Regions from separate parts of the Homo sapiens genome. Here regions 1 and 3 are each linked to region 2. Evidence: promoter capture Hi-C in human tissues and cell types (Jung and others, 2019). All regions are on one chromosome and are shown on one strand. Each heading gives the region's core, a stretch centred on a gene start or on the middle of the fragment in contact. The rest is flanking DNA. Distances are from core to core; before and after follow the strand shown. Region 1 holds the start of MTMR3 (myotubularin related protein 3). Region 2 holds the start of CABP7 (calcium binding protein 7). Region 3 has its middle 13 kb from the start of ASCC2.

What was found. The method cuts DNA at HindIII sites, captures the fragments that hold promoters and counts their contacts. A contact is called where the count stands out against the background at its distance.
Region 1: the fragment with the promoter of MTMR3 here is called in contact with the fragment with the promoter of CABP7 in region 2 in 2 of the 25 tissues and cell types used here (dorsolateral prefrontal cortex and hippocampus).
Region 3: a contact is called between a fragment that was not itself captured here and the fragment with the promoter of CABP7 in region 2, in 3 of the 25 tissues and cell types used here (adrenal gland, mesenchymal stem cells and stomach).

What each region holds. Positions count from the first base shown.
Region 1 is chr22:29,881,838-29,884,766 of GRCh38, reverse strand. MTMR3 (myotubularin related protein 3) reads right to left here and starts at 1,593. Exons shown (of 20, transcript NM_021090.4): 1 at 1,408-1,593. RefSeq lists silencers at 1,051-1,550, 1,611-1,780 and an enhancer at 1,493-1,787. The HindIII fragment of the contact is 9,494 bases long and covers 1-2,929 here.
Region 2 is chr22:29,718,679-29,721,378 of GRCh38, reverse strand. CABP7 (calcium binding protein 7) reads right to left here and starts at 1,376. Exons shown (of 5, transcript NM_182527.3): 1 at 846-1,376. The coding sequence starts at 954. It overlaps CABP7-DT (CABP7 divergent transcript), which reads left to right and starts at 1,476. Exons shown (of 3, transcript NR_186695.1): 1 at 1,476-1,831. RefSeq lists an enhancer at 1-67. The HindIII fragment of the contact is 29,567 bases long and covers 1-2,700 here.
Region 3 is chr22:29,849,634-29,852,333 of GRCh38, reverse strand. No RefSeq gene overlaps it. Among named protein-coding and RNA genes, the nearest start is that of ASCC2, 13 kb to the right of the region's middle. The HindIII fragment of the contact is 4,899 bases long and covers 1-2,700 here.

The DNA.
Region 1 (2,929 bases), core at 344-2,843, 160 kb before region 2:
CATGGTGAAATCCCCGTCTCTACTAAAAATACAAAAATTAGCCAGCCGTGGTGGCGCACACTTGTAATCCCAGCTACTTGGGAGGCTGAGGTGGGAGGATTGCTAGAACCTGGCAGGCGGAGGTTGCAGTGAGCAGAGATCGCACTACTGCACTCCGGCCTGGGCGGGAGAGAGAGATTCTGTCTTAAAAAAAAAAAAAAAAAAAAAAAAAAAAAGTGTCATTCTGTAAGCTCTTCTAGCCTACCCAAGTCATAGGCCCTATAAAGGGAAGACTTTCTGCATGCCATCAATGTCTCCTGTCCTACTGAACAGCCCTGAATCTGAAAGGGGAAGGTCCCCACCACCTCTCCATGGACAAATCACAAACATTTCACATTGAAAAAAATAATAATAATCTCCTGTAATTCAACCCAGGCCTCTTATGGCATTACCATTCACATATGAGAAAGTTGAACCTTAACTAGAAAAGTATATGGTTTTGGGGTTTTGTTTTGTTTTGTTTTGTTTGTTTGGGTTGTGGAAAAATAGATGTCAGAATCAAGATACTACAACAGTAAGAATTTAGGCCTGGGTCTGGAAAGGACATTTGAACATCAATATGTAATAGCAGTCCATGTCCAAAACTCACAAGTGAGATTATCAAATTCCAGGGGAGTCTATTAATGTGGCCAAAAAATCTACCCCATAATTTTGACATAAGTTTTCCAGTCCAAAATACAACCTACAGTATCATCTTATGGGTCCGGAAATGCCATACATCAAGCAAAATTACTACCGGAGAAATAACACTGTAATCATTTGCGGAGCAGTCTGACCAGGGTTCCCTCAGTTACGCCAACCGCCCCCAATCATCCTACCCACCTAAGTACTACCAGGTCAGGGGGATGCCCTGCTGCACGATCGGGCGGTCACTCCTCCTTTCCACAAGGCCCAGGCCCGCACCGTTCGCCCCGGGGCTCCCATGGCCCCTGACCTCCAGTATCCGGCAACGATGGACCGCCACAGACCCGGCAGGGGGCGAAGGGCGCACACCCACCTCCCGGGAGTTCGTGGGAATAACTCCGGGCGCTCCGAGGGTACGTCCCACACCCAGAGCCGCACGGGCCCATCCCCGCCAGGTCTGGGAAGGCAGCCCGAGCCCGGGACCCCGCCTCCCCCGCATCTAGGGTCCGGGCCGAGCTCGGCCGCCGAGCTCCCATTCCCACTCCCACACCCAGCGCCTCCCCCTGGCGGCGACAGCCGCCGGGGACGCCCCTCCCCGGGCCCCGCACGCAGTCCCCAGCCCTCCCAGGGCGCTGCCTCCTCAGAGGGTGACAGCCGCCTGGCCAGGGCCGGGGCCGAGGCCGGCCCCTCCTCCAGCTCTTCCTCACCCGCCGAGGAGACGGAGGACGGGGATGGGGTTCTTACCGGGCAGCAGGACATGGCGAGGCCCTCCACGGCACAGTCTCCCCCTCCGCCACCCCACCAGGCTCCCTGCCAGGGCCGGCGCTGGGCAGCGCCTGAGCCGCTGGGACGTCTCGTCCGGCTGCTACTCCGCCGCCGCCGCCGCCTTCTCACAACCACAACAACATGGCGGCAGCGGCCACACAGAGCGCGCTCCCGACGCCGAGCCGGGCGACGAGCGAGGACGCGCGCGCACGCTCGGGCGCTGAGCCCGGTGTCCGGGAAAGGGGGCGGGTCTCCGCCGGTTGGACGGGGGCGGGGCCTGGACAGGTGGTCACGCCCCAGGAGATGGGCGGGGCTGCAGCTGGGGAGAGGCTCGCGAAAAAGCCCAGCGGAGCAAGAATGGCTAGACAGATGGGAAATGGGTGGAGGAAAAGAGATGACAAAAAAAAATCTGGAAGAAAACCAAAGGTGGTCCTACAGATTTTTAGGAGGCGTCTTTTCCAAGCTCTGTAACCCTGGGCAAGACATGGCTCACTCTACTTACCAGAAAAATAGAACAATAGTGGTATCTTCCACCTGCAATTGTGGTCAGGATAAAACCAGTTTAATATAATGCAAGTAAATATAGTGTTTTAGAAGTTGTATTCAGAATACAATTTCTTTTCTTTTCTTTTCTTTTTTTTTTTTTTTTTTTTTTTTTTGAGACAGAGTCTGGCTCTGTCGCCCAGGCTGGAGTGCAGTGGCATCTCGGCTCACTGCAACCTCTGCCTCCCGGGCTCAAGCGATCCTCACACCTCAGCCTCCTGAGTAGCTGAGACTACAGACTCACAACATCATGCCCGGCTAAATTTTGTATTTTTTGTAGAGATGAGGTTTCTGCCATTTTGTCCAGGCTGATCTCAAACTCCTGGGCTGAAGCAATCCACCCACCTCGGCCTCCCAAAGCGCTGGGATTACAGGCATGAACCACCGCATCCGGTCCAGAATACAATTTCAAACTGATTCAACTTCAGCTCCTAATCAAAAGCTCAGCGGGAAGAAGTGAGTTTTCAAACAAAGTAAAAAACAACTCCCCCAAAAAATTGTAACCTACCCACACTAGCCTGCAGAATTCCACAAACCAGGATTGCATTACCGTAGGCCCTAACAGATTCACCTCCTCTGAGTTGCCTTTTAACATTCTACCCTTGACTTTTCTGGAAACTGGGAGAACTAGTCAAATGAAATCTATTCCTGCGTCTGTTGTAAAGTTTTTCCACAGCACTTTCTGAAATTTATTTTCAATGTTTACTGTCATTTTACTCCACTAAAATGTAAAAGCTACTTGAAGATAAGGATCTTGTCTTGTTCGTCACTGTTTCCCCAGCACCTAGAACTGTGCAGGTTAAGTAGTAGGCAGTCGAATTTCTTGATTAACTAACAGCTGGCTGGGCGCGGGGGCTCACGCCTGTAATCCCAGCACTTTGGGAGGCCAAGGTGAGTGGATCACCTGAACTCAGGTGTTCGATACCAGCCTGGCCAACTTGGTGAAACCCCGGATCTA
Region 2 (2,700 bases), core at 127-2,626:
CAGCCCAGCAGGGAAGGAGCTGGGCGGGCCCCAGGGGTCTCACTGCTCCTCAGGACACACTGTCCCGGACCCCTGCCCCTGCCCTCTGCTCTGACCTCGCCCAGCCAGCGGCCTGCCATCCCCCTGCGAGTCTGAGAGGCAGGGGGAACGGGGTGGGGGCGGGTTTGGGTCCTGGCCTCTCTGCCTTTCCCTTCCAGGCTTGGCTATCGCGACTTAGCCGCCCAGTCCGGCCACTTGTTGTCGCCACCGCCTCCCGGGCCGCCTTCCCGGCGCGCCGGGCTGGGGGTCCCCGCAGGGCTGCAGGGAAGGGGCTACGGCCGCAGGTGGGGACGGGGGCGGCCCCGCAGCGGGCAAGAGCAGGGCAGTCGCCCTCTCCCCTTCTGCTGCTGCCCGAGCAGATTGAATTTTTAAAGCGACACGAGCGGAATGTCAATGCGAGCAGAGAGCCGCGGGCGGGCGCCGCGGAGGGGATCAGGATGCGGGTGCTCCGGCCGGGCCGGCGCTGGGGGCTCAGCGCGGACCCCCGCCCCAGTCCGCCGCGTTGCCGCACCGTCACCGCCGACTGCGCGGCCCCGTGACCCCGCTGCGGGGCCCGGCAAGTTTCCGCAGCGCTGGGGACCACGCGGGCAGGGGCTGGGCCGCTCTCCGCCTGAGCGACCCCCACCGCGGCGCCCCGGGGTGCGGACAGGTCTTGCCGCGGGGCACAGCTGCTAGCTGGGGCGCCCACCTGGCAACCGGCACCTGCGGACCGCCCCCCGCCCCCCGCCCCCGCGCCCCTGGCCCGCGCTTCACCTGGGCGCACAGGTAGGAGGGCCGCCGGGGCGGGGATCCCGGCGGACACTCACCCTCCAGCTCGTCCTCCGGGATGTCCACCGGGCGCTGCTCCGACAGCAGGTTGGGCACGGTGTAGATGCCCCGGTACATCAACGCCGCCGTCACCGGGTGGAACGGCATCTTGGAGGCTCCGCGCCCGCCCGCCCGCCGCAAACTTTGAGGCCGGGGCTCATGGGCCGGTGGCGGCCCCGGGGGCGGCTGGAGCGGGCGGGGCGCGCGGCTGCGGAGGGCGGCGGCGGCAGCGGCGAGGCTGGGGACGCCCCTCCGGGGGCCTAGCGCCCCCGCGCCCCGGGCCGCCGGGCCATGCCGCCCGCTCCCTCGTCGGGCTCCCAGCCGGGGCCCCGCAGGGGCAGCGGGGGCGGCGCCGCTCTGGCCTTTCCGAGAGCTCCGGCTGCCTCGCGCGGTGCCCGCCGCGCCCGCTCCTCGGTGCCCCGCGCGCTCCGCGCTGCTCGCCGCCCGCTAGTCCGCTCGCCGGCGCGGCCGCTACCGGCCCGGCGCTCAGGCTGTAGCCGCCTCTCCGCTCGCTCGCTCGCTCGTTCTGTGCCGCGCTGGCTGCGCTCCCCGCCTCCCCCGCCAGCCGCCCGCCCGCCCCCTCCGCGCTCCCCACCCCCAGCCCGCCCCTTCCCGCCGCCGGCCCCTGAGCGGCCGCCCCAAACCTGCCCGGGGCTCCTTCTCCCCTTCGGCCCCGATTCCCCTTTCCCACTAGGGCTCCCCTCTGTTCACTGGCTCTCCTCACCCTAAGTCTGCAGCCACCAGGACCAGGGAGGGGGTGGGTTGCGGGGGTCCTCCTTCCTGCCCCTTGGCTCACCTTCCCCCATCCACGCACCAGGAGCGGAGAGCCCGGAACTAAGAACTGTAGACCCAGAGAGGTGAGACTGGCCCCAAGCACCTGGGTCCTCAAGAAGAGTCACCGTTTCCGTGCCAGGAGGATCCAAGGTGGGGAAACTGAGGCTGAGAGAGAAGGACGTTGACCAAGGTCACAGGGCAGGAGCAGCAGGTAAGAGCTGGGTACACGTCTGGGGTAGGCTTCCTGCCCTGCCTGTGACTGACACCCTGCCGCTGACCTTGCTCCCCACAATGGGGCCCCAGTCCCGGACCCTTCCCAAGCCCCTACCTTTCAGCTTGCAGAAGAGGAGCCAAAGTGTCTCATGGCCCCCAGGGCAGTTCGGGACAGAGACATGGCCCGGTGCCTGTGGGGTCTGGTGTGAGGGCCTGCCAGTTCACATGGCTGCAGCTCAGACCTAATGTATGTGCAGGGCTTCCCCAGGCCCCAGGGCACGTCGGCACCCCAGAGCTGGGGTGGGGGCAGGTGTTTGAGGGAGCAGCCTGCGTGTGCATATGTCTGCTATCCATGAGGGTGTGTATGTGCCACTGGGCACGTGCGCAGGTGTCTGTGACTCCATATGCAGATGGACAAATGTCGGGAGTGTGTGGCCACCTGTGTGTGCCAAGGTTGTACGCTGGCAGGTCGGGGGAGGTGTGCAGGCCCTGGGGCTGGGAGTGGTGTGGGCATATGGTGCACAGATGTGCATGGGAGGGGGTGACCTTCTGGCCTGGCTGTGGCCCCATCTCTGGGTGCTTCCCTGAATCCCCCTACTGGGACCACCTCCCTGCCCCCTTTGGCCCAATCAGCTAAAGGTCCCAGCAGGAACGCTGATTGCACAGCCCTGCCCGGTCCTGCCCTGCCCTTCCCAAGCTGATTACACTTTTCTGCTTGTTTCTGTTTTTGTTACTGATTAATCGCAGCCTTGTCTCAGGGTCTGGGGAGAAGGGGCTCAGTGAGAGATGCTAGCCCCAGCCAAGCGGGGTTGGGTCAGCCTGGGCCCAGCACTTCCTGGGCCCTGCTCTGGAGGGAGCTCCTAGAAA
Region 3 (2,700 bases), core at 13-2,512, 130 kb before region 2:
AAAATGAAATAATGGGCCAGCCGCAGTAGCTCACACCTGTAATCCCAGCACTTTTGGAGGCCCATGTGGGCAGGTTGCTTGAGCTCAGGAATTAGAGACCAGCCTTGGCAACTTGGCAAAGTTTCATCTCCATTAAAAACAAATAAATAGCCAAATAGCCGGGTGCAGTGACTCATGCCTGTAATCCCAGCTACTCAGGAGGCTGAGGCAGGAGAATCACTTGAACCCAGGAGGCAGAGGTTGCAGTGAGCCGAGATCATGCCATTGCACCCCAGCCTGGGTGACAGAGTCAGACTCTGTCAAAAAAAAAAAAAAAATATATATATATAAAATAAAAATTAAAAGAAAATAAAATAATAAAAAATAAAGGGAGACGGGGCTGGGTGCAGCAACTCACACCTATAATGTAATTCCAGCACTTTGAGAGGCCGAGGCAGGAGGATCACTTGAGCCCAGGAGTTTGAGACCAGCCTGGGCAACATAGTAAGATCTCATCTCTAAAAAAAAAAAAAAAAAAAAAAAATTAGTCGATGCCTGTAGTCTTAGCTACTTGGCAGGCTGAGGCAAGAAGATCACATGAGGCCAGGAGTTCAAGGCTGCAGTGAGCCATGGTCACACCACTACACTCCAGCTTGAGTGAGAGTGGGAACCCAACTCAAAAAAATAAAAAATAAAATAAAGGGAAAGGGAAAAAGAAACTCTACATCCAAGATGATCTCTGGACGAAAATGACACCAAATACTGGACAATTTAAACAAGCTCCCCTTTTGGGAATGGGCATTGGTGAAGACATTGGGGCTGCCTGAAGGGAATTCTGGACTGTGTTTCCCTCCCCACATCACTTTTAGCCTCTTGAACCTTCACAGTCCATTATAGCCCAGCTTGATTGGCACCTGCTCCTGGAAGCTTTCCCTGACGTCCCTAACCAACTGAAGCTGAGAATATATTTCTCTCTGATTCCATGTATTAGCCACTGACCATTGCCCTGACCACTGCCTGCCTCACAGCCTCACACTAAGCCATGTTTCTGTCACCAGAGATTCTTGGGCCTTAAGATGGCTTTTCTAGCTAGAAGGGAAGAAGAGGTTCAGCAGGGTGCTGGCGTGAGTTGCTCTTAGACTTTTGAGGATGTTTCTTTGAGAATCAGATGAAGCCTCTCAGTCTCTCTACTGAAAAATATTCCCCAAACACAACTGTGTATAATTCAAGGGGGACACAGATCTTGGGAGCCCCTTCATGGACTTGGGTTTAGAATTTGTGCCTCATGGGGAGCCTTCTGTTAAGAAGAGGAACTACAGTTGTTCAGAACGTGTGCTATGGTTTGAATGTGTCCCCTTCAAAATTCAGGTGTTGCCAATGTGACAGTATTAAAAGGTGGAGCCTTTACGAGGTGATTGAGTCATGAGGGCACGGCCCTCATGAATAGGATTAGGTGCCCTCATGAAAGGATTTTTTTTTTTTTTTTTTTTTTGCTCTTGTTGCACAGGCTGGAGTGCGTTGTCACAATCTTGGCTCACTGCAATCTCCGTCTCCCGAGTTCAAGCAATTCTCCTGCTACAGCCTCCCAAGGAGCTGGGATTACAGGCACCTGCCACTACACCCAGCTAATTTTCTGTATTTTTAGTAGAGATGGAGTTTCACCATTTTGGCCAGGCTAGTCTTGAACTCCTAACCTCAGGTTATCCACCCACCTCGGCCTCCAAAAGTGCTGGGATTACAGGCGTGAGCCACCGGGCCCAGCCTCATAAAAGAATTTGATGGAGGGAGTTCAACCCTCCTGCCCTTCTTCCTTCTGCCATGCAAGGATGCACTGTTCCTTCTCTCTGAAGGATACAGCAACATGGCGCCATCTTGGAAGCAGAGAGCAAGGCCTCACCAGACAACCAAACCTACTAGTGCTTTAATCTTGGACTTCCCAGCCTCCTGAACCATTAGAAATAAATTTATGTTCTTTGTAAATATCTCAGCCTCAAGTGTTCTGTTTTAACAGCACAAACGGACTAAGACAGCATGGAAAACAACTCAATCTCTCAGTTTTGCCTCTCCTCAAAATGGCCCTGTCTCAGGGCCAAGGTATTTTAAGGAAGTCAGTAATCAGCAAGGAGCTATTAGATGCCTTCTTTGTGACCCTGGGCAAGTCATTGCCCATCTCTGGACCATGGTTTTTTACTTGGAATTGGAAGAGTTGGTCTAGATTATCCTAGCACTTTGATTCAATCATCAGCCAGCAAATATTTAATGCACACTGTAAGATGCCAGGTACCAAGCTAAGCACTGGGGATAAGGTTGGTGAACAAAACAGATGAGGTCTCTAATTTGTCAGAACACATAGCCTAATGAAGGAGTCAATCACTGATTGACCACACAATAAATACAAGAAGATAAGCTGTGACCAGTGACACACAAGGGAAGTGAAGGGAGCTAACTAGGAATGTGTATATCAGGAAAGTGATTATAACCTGGGAAAAAATGAGATGAAGAGGAGGCTTTACCTTGACAAGGAGAGCAGGGGGTTATTTCAGGCCGAGGAAGCAGCATGGGCTAGTGCCCTGAGGTGTGAAGGGGCCATTGTACTCAAGGAATTAGGTCAGAGCAGCTGCATACTGAAATCTCTGGGGACTGTGCAAGCCCAGAGAGTAGATACCCAGCAAGAAGAGAAAGTAGGGTTCCCCTCTTTTCTTGATGGTCAAGGCAAATCTT